Linked DNA regions of Homo sapiens: regions 1 and 3 are each linked to region 2. Evidence: promoter capture Hi-C in 16 types of primary human blood cells and fetal thymus (Javierre and others, 2016). All regions are on one chromosome and are shown on one strand. The core of a region is centred on a gene start or on the middle of the fragment in contact, and the rest is flanking DNA. Distances in the headings are between cores, read along the strand shown.

Region 1 (3,467 bases), core at 645-3,144, 200 kb after region 2:
CGCAGTCCGGCCTGGGCGACAGAGCGAGACTCCGTCTCAAAAAAAAAAAAAAAAAAAATACAAAAAATAGCTGGGTGTGGTGGCATGCGTGTGTAATCCCAGCTACTCAGGAGGCTGAGGCAGGAGGATCATTTGAATCTGGGAGGCGGAGGTTACAGTGAGCCAAGACAGTGCCATTGCACTCCAGCATGGGTGACAGAGCAAGATTCTGTCTCAAAAAAAAAAAAGATATTGACCAGGCTAGTCTTGAACTCTTAACCTCAAGTGATCCTCCCACCTCGGCCTCCAGAGTAGCTGGGATTACAGATGTGAGTCACCATGCCCAGCATGAGCCACATAAGGTTTCTGAGCACTTACTATGGACCAAGAACTGTCTTTGGGCTTGCCCAAAGACATTCCAGGCTGACATTCCAGGCGGATGAGGACAGATGATAAACATGAAATCCAATATATATTCAACCTGCCAGCAGGGCACCAGATGAAATCCACCTGGGTGAGGATGTCATTATTTGAAGTAGAGTAGGGCGACTGGCCCCATGTTCTAATGGTCAGCCCTCTGGACTCTGAAGTAGAGTAGGGCAATCAGGGAAGCCCTCTCTGAGGAGGTGGCATTTGAGCAAAAAACTGAATGATGAGGAGGAGCCAATCATGTGGATATCCAGGGCATGTGTTGCAGGCAGAGGATACAGGATGTGCAAAGGCCCCGAGGCTGAAGCTTCCCTGGTGTGTCTGAGGAGCCCAGTATGGCTGAAGGATGGTGAACAAGGAGGAAAATGGGGAGAGGCGGGGCAGGGAGTTCACCAGGAGGATCGTGGGGGGTCTTGTAGACCACAGCAAGGATTCGATCTTTTCACCTGAGTGAGGGAACCCTGGCAGGGCTGATGTCCTTTTCTGATCTCTGAATGAGGAGGCTGGACATGGGTTATGGGTCAAGAAGCAGGAGGGAGGAGCCTTTGGTGGCCTTCTGTGTTACCATCAGTCAGAACTTTCCTGGCCGGGTGCAATGACCCACGCCTATAAGCCCAGGACTTTGGGAGGCTGAGGCAGGACGATTCCTTGAGCCAAGGAGTTCAAGATCAGCCTGGGCAACATAGTGAGACCCTGTCTCTACAAAAAAAAAAAAAAATTATTTTATTTTTTTTTTAGATAGGGGTCTTGCTTTGTTGACCAGGCTAGAGTGCAGTGGCGCAATCACAGCTCACTGCAGCCTCCACTTCCTGGGCTCAATCAATCTTCCCTTCTCAGTCTCCCTAGCAGCTGGGACTACAGCCGTGCACCACCACGCCTGGCTAATATGTCTATTTTTTGTAAAGACAGGGACTCACTCTGTCGCCCAGGCTGGAGTGCAGTGGTGTGACCCCAGCTCACTGCAATCTCTACCTCCGAGGTTCAAGCAATTCTCCTGCCTCAGCCTCTCGAGTCTCACTGCAACCTCTACCTCCGAGGTTCAAGCAATTCTCCTGCCTCAGCCTCCCGAGTAGCTGGGATTACAGGCGTGCACCACCATGCCCAGCTACTTTTTGAGTTTTAGTAGAGATGGGGTTTCACAATGCTGGCCAGGCTGCTCTCAAACTCCTGACCTCAGGTGTTCTGCCTGCCTCGGCCTCACAAAGTGCTGGAATTACAGGCGTGAGCCACCATGCCCAGCTCCCCCCAATTTTTTTTTTTTTTTTGAGACAGTCTCGGTCTGTCGCCCAGGCTGGAGTACAGTGGCACGATCTCGGCTCACTGCAACCTCTGCCTCCCGGGTTCAAGCGATTCTCCTGCCTCAGAGCCTCCCGAGTAGCTGGGACTACAGGCATGTGCCACCATGCCCAGCTAATTTTTTGTATTTTTTTTTTTAGTAAGAAGGGGTTTCACAGTGTTAGCCAGGATGATCTCAATCTCCTGATCTTGTGATCCGCCCACCTCAGCCTCCCAAAGTGCTGAGATTACAGGCGTGAGCTACCCCGTCCGGCTAATGTTTTTTTTTTTTTTTTTTTAATTAGGAGGGACTGCTGGCATGTGTCAGTAGGCTGAGGCAGGTGGATCACTTAAGCCGGGGAGGTAGAGGATATAGTGAGCCATGATCGCACCACTGCATTCCAGCCTGGGTGACAGAGGGAGACCCTGTCTGTAAAAACTTTTTTTTTTTTTTAATTTTTGAGACAGAGTCTCACTCTGTCGCCCAGGCTGAAGTGCAGTGGCCCAATCTCGGCTCACTGCAACCTTTGCCTCCCAGGCTCAAGCGATTCTCGTGCCTCAGCCTCCCGAGTAGCTGGGACTACAGGCGCCAACCACCACACCCTGCTAATTTTTGTATTTTTTAGTAGAGATGGGGTTTCACCATGTTGGCCAGGGTGGTCTTCAACTCCTGACCTCAAGTGATCCGCCCACATCGGCCTCCCAAAGTGCTGGGATTACAGCCATGAGCCACCGCGCCTGGCCCAAAAAAACTTTTAAAAAGAACTTTTTCACTGCAAAAAATAATCTTGTTGCCAGCCGAGGCCAACATGCAGCTATGACAGGGCAGTTCTCTGTCCTTCCCGGCCTCAGGCTCCTCTATCAAAGGCCCCCTTCTCTCACCTTGGCCTTGTGGCCTTGGAGTAGGGAGCTGACAACACCCCTTCTGCCCCAGGTGAATCAATGAACAAGGCTGACATTGTGAGAATACCAAGCGTCTGTCTTCTTCCCTCTTCTGGCTTAGCTCCTCACCTCCCTTGGGGTCAGGGCATCTCCTCTTTCTCCAGGAAGGGGAAGCGAAGTCTTGTGCTGAGAAGGTGACTCTGGAACTGCCACTCCCATGCCTGTGTGACTAGCTTCTGGGTGGATCTCAGGGTCTACCGTTGGGCTGGGGGTGGATGTCATCTGGCCACTGGCACCCAGACTGCAAGTAATAAAAACCTGACTCACACTGGCTCTACCAGCAAGAGGGGATTTGTTGGTTCACTGAGCTGAAGTCAGTTTACATGGCTGACTTCAGATATGGCTGGATCCAGGTGCTGAAAAATGACAGAAAGCATTTGCCTTCTCAGCTCCTCTTCTGTCTTATTCTCAGGTAGTTTCTCCCCCTCATGGAGGCAAGATTGTGCCCTGAAGCTTCAGATATATATTCTTTTTTTTTTTTTTTTTTTTTTTTTGAGACAGATTCTAGCTGTGTCACCCAGACTGGAAGGCAATGGCCCAATCTCGGCTCACTGCAACCTCCACCTTTTGGGTTCAATCGATTCTCCTGCCTCAGCGTCCCAAGTAGCTGGGATTACAGGCACGTAACACCTGGCTAATTTTTGTATTTTTAGTAGAGACGAGGTTTCACTATGTTGGCCAGGTTGATCTCGAACTCCTGACCTCAGGTGATCCACCCACCTCAGTCTCCCAAAGGGCTGGGATTACAGGCGTGAGCCACCGTGCCCAGCCATCTCTTTTTTTGTTTGTTTCTTCAGATGGGGTCTCTCTGTGTCACCCAGGCTGGAGTGCAGTAGCACGAT
Region 2 (3,735 bases), core at 117-2,616:
TCAGCCTCCCAAGTAGGTGGGACTACAGGCATGTGCCACCACACCCGGCTAATTTTCTTTTGTATTTTTAGTAGAGACGGGGTTTCACCATGCTGGCCAGGCTGGTCTCGAACTCCTGACCTCGTGATCCGCCCGCCTCGGCCTCCCAAAGTGCTGGGATTACAAACGTGAGCCACCGCGCCTGGCCTTCCTTGCTCTTCTTGCTCCAAATCCTGGGAACGTCTGAATCAACAGGCGGACATCTGTCAAACCTTCCTAGCAACTACGCCTGCGGATGGCCAACCTGACCCTGGAAGACAGTGGGGTTTAGTTAAGCACAGATTGTACATCGGGGGCCTCATAAGGCGCCTGGAAGCATTCAAGAACACCACGCTTGTAAGGACAAAGCACTCGGTCACGGGCGCCTTTACTTCGGAGCTCCGCGCTGCTGCTGGACGAGCGTCCGTTGAGTCCCAGCCCCAATTTTTCCAGGAAATGGCGGTGAGCCCTCTAGTGAGATATTTTTTGGCCTGGGCCTCAGTTTCTCCATCTGTCAATGGGGGAAGGGGAAGGCGGGCTAGAGGACCCCGACCAGGTCGGCTGCAGCCTTCGGAAGCTACGGCCCAGGGACGCCACACCAAGGCAGGTCTGCGGGACGAAAGAACCCAAGAACCCGGGCGCGCATTGGCGCCGGTCCCGGGCTCAAGGGGCAGCAACGAGGAGACGCTGGACCTGGCCGTTCCTCGCACACATCTCTAACCTTCTGTGCCTCTCAAGGGAGATGGGGTGAGCATAGCCACCTCCACTGGAGCCCGAAAATCCCCGGCCGAGATACCGCCACTAAAAAGGTACACATGCGTCAAAGCCTCTCGGAGCCATTTCCGCTAACGTACTCAGGGCGACGGGCGTAAGATGGCGGCCGCGCAGGCGCAAAATGTCGCAGCCGTAGGGAGGCTCCGCCTCTGACGCTTGCCTTGCATCACGTGGTAATGGCCGCTCAAAAAACGCCTTAGCGAAAACCAGAGCGTGCCCTCGTCACGTGATGGAGGACTCCCAGTACGGCAAAGGGAAGGCGCCAAAAGTTGTCAGATGGCGAAGGAAACCGCGAAATTCGCCATTGTCACATGATGGAGCAACCTATCGAAAGCGGAGGGAAAGGTGCCGAAGTCACGTGACTACGCACGCAAACACTCCCGCTTGCACCACGTGCAACTCACGCCCACCCCCTCAGCCCCCCCCTTATCTCTTTTCGCCCCTCCCTCCCATTTGGGTTGGGCCTGCGTCGAGGCGCAACGCGGCGTCAAAGGGGGCGGGGCTTCAGCCGGTCACGTGTTCCCGCACCTCCCCGGCGCGCGCCTGCCCGCCCGCCCGCTCGCCCCCGGTCCGGACTCCTCCTCCTCCTCTTCTCGCCATTGCAGTTGGACCCAGCAGCCCGGCGCGCACCGCGTGGCTTTTGGGGGCAGACCCCGGCGGGCTGTGGCAGGAGGGCGGCGGCGGCGGCTGCGGTCGAAGAAGGGGACGCCGACAAGGTAAGCGTCAATGTGGCGGCGGCCGGGCCCGCTCCCGCCTCTGCCCCTCCCCCCGCCCGCCCTCAGTGAGATCCCCACTGAGGGTTCGCGGTGACAAGGCTGGAGGGATCCCACGCTCGCCGCCTCCGCCCGGTTCCCTCATCCCGGCGCCTGGCCCGTTCCTCCCTTGCCGGCCTCGCTCCCGCGCTCGGCCGTTAACTCTCTTCCATTGTGCGGAGGAAACAAAATGGCGGCTGCGGCGGCGGCGAGGACTCGGTGCGCGCGCAGCCGCTCCCCCCCGCACGCGGCCCCTCGGCCGGCGGCGGCGCCACGCGCGGGGGGGTGCGCGCGCACCGGGCCCCCGGCTGCCGCCTCCCCGCGGCTGGGCTTTTGTCTGTTGCGGGGGTCCTGGGGACGCGCGCACGTGCTTGGAGCACACACCCCCTCGGGTCCCGAGTTCCGCGGCGGGGCGACCCCCCTTCCTCACTCCTTCCCTACCCCCTCCTCCTCTTTGTCCCGGTCCCGCCCCCGATTCCAGGAGAGTCCCAGGTTCCCGAGGCGGGAAAAGTCGCCTCCTTTGTCCTCACAGGTCGCGGAGAGGCGGACCCCCTCCTTGGAAGCCCCTTCCCACGCGGATTGCTGAGGAAGCCTTTGTGGGTTCGTCGGGTTTCCAAATCTCTGGTCAGCCAGGCCTCTCTCAGATCAGGGTCAAAACTTGAGAGGGTTTCAGCTTTTTCTTTAGTTAGTTTGTTTTCATTGTTGAATGTTTTTCCAGATTGTTAGTATTTGCCTTCTCTAGACCGGCAATCTACTTGGGTGCAAGCCTGGGCCCCGAAACGTGGATGCTTAAAACCCATTTCTACCTTTATTTTCTCAAGTAGTTGAACGATTGAGATTCTCGAGGTTACTCATGAGGTTCTGCCCCAGTTAATTCACCGCCTGGATGAATTATTTGGGGTGTACGGCGGTCTGCATGCTCCTCCCCCAGTTCAGTGGCCAAATTTGAGGAGAATGAGGGATCTCTTCTCCACATTTCCAACATTGTTTGCCAGTTGCTGCTTAGGTGACATGGATCAGCAACGAAGCGTCGGTTTCAGTGGTTTCTTTTTCTGGACTCCGGTAATTCACTGCTGCTGAATCTTTTTCAAGATTTTGCTCTCTTTAAAATGAGTGGTGTGATGGCATATTTGTGGTCCACATGGAATCGCGAGGTGCCATCCGAAGTTAGGATTCAAATTTAGGACTTTAAGCTCTCTTTTCCTCAGGTATTTGTGGATGGGAATCTCCATGGATTGCTCAGAGTGCTGCCACTGTCCCTTGTGCGTGATGCTTTGTGTGTGGTCTCGTGGGATGTAGTTACAGTAGCCGCCCAGACTGTGAATGAAGTGTGGGAACCAGGGCCTCATTCACAGCTGGAAAGCAGGAGGAGGCCGCAGGACATTGGCAGGTGCTCCTCTCCCTGTTCCGTGGTGCTGGGGCCCCTTGCTTATGTGGGTGGCTCTTGGTCCCTGGGATTTGTGAATGGAGTCTGCAGGCCCCAGTGTTGTCTGGAATATTCTTTAGTTCAGATTGGAGGCTAGCAATGACTGCCAGGCTTGGCCTTGCCGCCACTGGGCGCTATTTATCACTCTCCCTATCTTCCTGGAGCTTAGCCGAGTCTTCCTGGAGCTGAGAGGTGCCTAATTGTTTGTGGTTTTTCTGATTGAACTTGTTTGGTGCCTCTAGGCAAAAATTCCTTTGGCTCCTTCTAGTATTTTCAGGGTCTTGAAGGCCCATATTCCTGAGCATGAGGAATCTAAGTCTGTTATTTTTTCCTAAATTTTCATGTTAAATACCACGTTGACAAAGGACAGCTGCTAATATTTTGATCACACAGATACAGACGGTGCTCCCTGGTTAAGGCCTCCAGGTAGGGGACAGGTAGAGTCAGTGATGGGGAAGAAGCCTTCTGTAAGTCCCTTTCCTTTGGGTAGACAGTAGATTACCCTTTAGGCTTTAGCAAGATGTGGGGGTTAGAAGTCTTCTATTCTTGGAAAAGCCTTTAGTCGTTTTCTTTGGGCTGGGGCCTCTTCTCTTAGGGACTGCTGTCACCCTTTCTCGGTTTCTTTTGATTACCTTTCATGGCCCCAGAGGAGTGATCCCTTCCCTTATTTATACCTCTTGGACTTGTCATCCTGCTACATTTTGTCAGCAAGTTAATTCACCTTGTGCAGTTTTGAAAGATGTGTAAGTGTTAACATTTAGTATT
Region 3 (3,428 bases), core at 646-3,145, 220 kb after region 2:
TTTCTTATAAGGACACTGGGCATTGGATTTAGGGCCCACTTTATATCTAGGATGATCTCATCTCAAGATCCTTATCTGCAAAGACCCTATTTCCTAATAAGGTCACCTTCACAGATTCCAGGGGTTACAACTTGGATGTCTGTCTTTTTTTTTTTTTTGAGATGGAATTTTGCCCAGGCTGGAGTGCAATGGCGTGATCTCGGCTCACTGCAACCTCTGCCTCCCGGGTTCGAGCGATTCGCCTGCTTTGGCCTCCCAAAGTCCTGGGATTACAGGGATTAGAGGCATGTGCCACCATGCCCGGTTAATTTTTTTTGTATTTTTAGTAGAGATGGGGTTTCTCCGTGTTGGTCAGGCTGGTCTCGAACTCCTGACCTCAGGTGATCCGCCCACCTTGGCCTCCTAAAGTGCTGGGATTACAGGTGTGAGCCACCGCCACCAGCCTCACATATGGCTAATTTTTAAGTTTCTTCTAGCGATGCGGTCTCACTATTTTGCCCAGGCTGGTCTTGAACTCCTGGGCTCAAGCAGTCCTCCTGCCTTGGCCTCCCAAAGTGCTAGGATTACAGACGTGAGCCACTGCGCCCGGCCAATAAATATTTATGTCCATGTTACTGACAGCAGTGTTCGTTGGTGTGGCATGGGAATGAGCTAGCTTTTCTAGGAGGAGCCCCCTATGCTCCAGGGCTGCCCCGCTGTCTTGGCTCACCGGCCATGGGAGGGAGTCCTGGGCCATGATCTGTACCTAACATAGGAGGCCCAGGAGAGGCACGTGGGGAGGACTTCCAGCCCTGTTCCTTGACGTCTGCACCCTCCAGGGGAAGGATGACAGCTGCAGAAGGGCCTGTCTCTGTCACTCTGTAGTGAACAGTTACTTCTTGCCATCTGAAGTCACCCTGGCCTACGTCCATGAGATTGGCCAAATGGCAACTACCAACACCAGGCCATTTTCCCTGTGCAGAGGGGGAGGCCCTTTGGCGTGGGCTTCCTGGGCTTGAGGAAGCTTTGGCATGGCCTCTGGAGTTCCTGGGCATAGGCTGCCCTCCCTTGGAAAGGAGGCAGTTTCTCAGGGAGGGGTGCCGGGAAAGAGAACAGAACAAACTCTCACTTCCCCAGCCCTGTGGCGCTCTTTCTGGAAATGACTGTGTCACTTTTCTTTCTTGGTCAGCACGAGTCAGTGTGGCCAGTGCTTTAGACTCTCCCATCCCCTTGGCTCAGAAGCTTACACAGCAGCATGGGCTCCGTCAGGGGCTAAACTTCAGTTTGTGAGGGGCATGCCATGGGGTGGAAAGTTCAGAGAAAAACCCTTTGTCCAAAGAAGGTGAAGAATGGCCTGCTGTCACCGAACCAGGGGCCCTTGTGACTTCCTTTGGTTACACTCCTGGGATCCCCCTGACAGCTGGGGCAGGGGTATAGAAGAGCTTGTTATGTGCCCCATCTTTAGGACATCTCGGTGTCAAGCTGGAGTGACAACAGGGAAAGTTAGTAACCCCAGAAAGGCATTTGTGTTTCAGCGGTGCCTGCGTGTGGCTAATGGATACCGTCATTTATTGAGCATTTATCCCGTACCAGACTGTGCATAAACTTGTGTTGACTCAAAATGCTTGACCTTGGGGGCAGCTAGGGAAAGGGCAGTGATATAAATTAGGCCTATGGGCCACATTGAGCCTGTGGCCTATTTTTATCTGTGTTTGTATTTTATTAGTGAGACAGAGTCTCACTGTGTTGCCCAGGCTGGAGTGCAATGGCATGGTCTTGGCTCACTGTAACCTCCACCTCCCAGGTTCAAGTGATTCTCATGCCTCACCCTCCTGAGTAGCTGGGATTACAGGCCTGTGCCACCACCCTGGCTAATTTTTGTATTTTTAGTAGAGACAGGGTTTCACCATCTTGGCCAGGCTGGCCTCGAACTCCTGACCTCAAATAATCTGCCTGCCTCAGCCTCCCAAAATGCTGGGATTACAGGTGCGAGCCACCGCACCCAGCCTGTGTTTTATTATTTATTTATTTTGAGATGGAATCTCGCTCTGTTGCCCAGGCTGGAATGCAGTGGCGCAATCTCGGCTCACTGCAACCTCTGCCTCCCAGGTTCAAGCGATTCTCCTGTCTCAGCCTCCCGAGTAGCTGGGATTACAGGCACATGCCGCCATGCCCAGCTAATTTTTTGTATTTTAGTAGCTCACTGCAGCCTCTAACTCCTGGGCTCAAGTGATCCTCTGGCCTCATCCTCCCAAGTAGCTGGGACTACAAGCACATGTCACCACCCTTGGCTAATTTAAGCAATTTTTTTAGAGACAGAGTCTTGCTGTGTTTCCCAGGCTGGCCCCAAACCCCTGGCCTCAAACCATCCTCCTCCTGCCTGAGCCTCAGAAGTAGCTGGGATTATAGTCACGAACCGCTGGGCCCGGTGTGGCCTATTTTTGTACAGACAAAGCTAAGAAAGGCTTTTACAGTTTTTGAGAGATTGATTAGGGAAAAAAACTAAAACCCAATCCACAAACAACAATAATCAGTTGAGACCACAGTGTCCTGCAAAACCTGAAATATTTACTCACTGGCCCGAGGCAGGGGAAGCTTGTAGACCCCTGGGATAAATGAATGAGGCAGGCAGGAGTTGGGGTCTGTGGGGAGTTTGGCCCCAGCCAAAAGAGAAACCAAAAAATCCTCAGGCCGAATAGAGCATACTTCTGAATTGTGTGAGCCCCTTGTGCCAATTGTGGCGCTTACTGTATGTTACCACTTACTCTGAAAAGAGTTCTGTGAGGTCAGAGATACCAACCCCAATTTACTGGTGGAAAAACAGAAATGAAAGAACTTGACTGGCCAAAGTGATGTGGTTGGCAGGCAGCAGAGATGGCTTTGGCATTCTGGGTGACTGGATGCCCACCTTAAATGCATATATAAGTGGTTCAGTGACATTTATCTGTTCATCACAAAGACCCAAAGTAGCAGAGGCTTAATTAAACACGATGGCATTTTATTTTTTGTGCTCTAATGCTAAAGTGTGAAGATTGTCAGGTGCCAAAGTCTCCTGGGCTCTTGGAAGTTCCCAGATCCAGGTCCTCCCCCCGGCTTTTTTTTTTTTTTTGAGATGGTGTCTCGCTCTGTTGCCCAGGGGCTGCAGTGCAGTGGTGTGATCTCAGCTCACTGCATCCTCTGCCTCCCGGGTTCAAGCGATTCTCCTGCCTCAGCCTCCCAAGTATCTGGGACTACAGGCGTGTGCCACCACGGCTGGCTAATTTTTGTATTTTTAGTAGAGACGGGGTATCGCCACGTTGGCCAGGCTGTTCTCAAACTCCTGACCTCAGGTGATCCACCCGCCTCGGCCTCCCAAAGTGCTGGGATTACAGGCCACTGCCCCAGGCTGATCCTCCACCATTCTTAAGGTGAGGTCTTGTCCTCAGGTTTCAGCATGACTGCTGGAGTCC

The links. The method cuts DNA at HindIII sites, captures the fragments that hold promoters and counts their contacts. A CHiCAGO score of 5 or more calls a contact.
Region 1: a contact is called between a fragment that was not itself captured here and the fragment with the promoter of ILF3 in region 2, in 5 of 17 cell types (neutrophils, naive CD8 T cells, activated CD4 T cells and 2 more). The highest score is 8.3, in neutrophils.
Region 3: a fragment that was not itself captured here is called in contact with the fragment with the promoter of ILF3 in region 2 in 1 of 17 cell types (neutrophils); the score reaches 5.1 in neutrophils.

The regions. Positions count from the first base shown.
Region 1 is chr19:10,851,937-10,855,403 of GRCh38, forward strand. All of the region lies in intron 2 of C19orf38 (chromosome 19 open reading frame 38), which reads left to right. Among named protein-coding and RNA genes, the nearest start is that of C19orf38, 5.3 kb to the left of the region's middle. The HindIII fragment of the contact is 2,363 bases long and covers 714-3,076 here.
Region 2 is chr19:10,652,980-10,656,714 of GRCh38, forward strand. ILF3 (interleukin enhancer binding factor 3) reads left to right here and starts at 1,367. Exons shown (of 20, transcript NM_017620.3): 1 at 1,367-1,508. It overlaps ILF3-DT (ILF3 divergent transcript), which reads right to left and starts at 893. Exons shown (of 1, transcript NR_024333.1): 1 at 1-893. RefSeq lists enhancers at 1-379, 245-414, 655-1,124 and silencers at 1,215-1,454, 1,535-1,694. The HindIII fragment of the contact is 11,918 bases long and covers 1-3,735 here.
Region 3 is chr19:10,875,735-10,879,162 of GRCh38, forward strand. The region is part of intron 1 of CARM1 (coactivator associated arginine methyltransferase 1); the gene reads left to right. Among named protein-coding and RNA genes, the nearest start is that of CARM1, 5.9 kb to the left of the region's middle. RefSeq lists enhancers at 887-1,036, 1,217-1,446, 3,254-3,428. The HindIII fragment of the contact is 1,353 bases long and covers 1,220-2,572 here.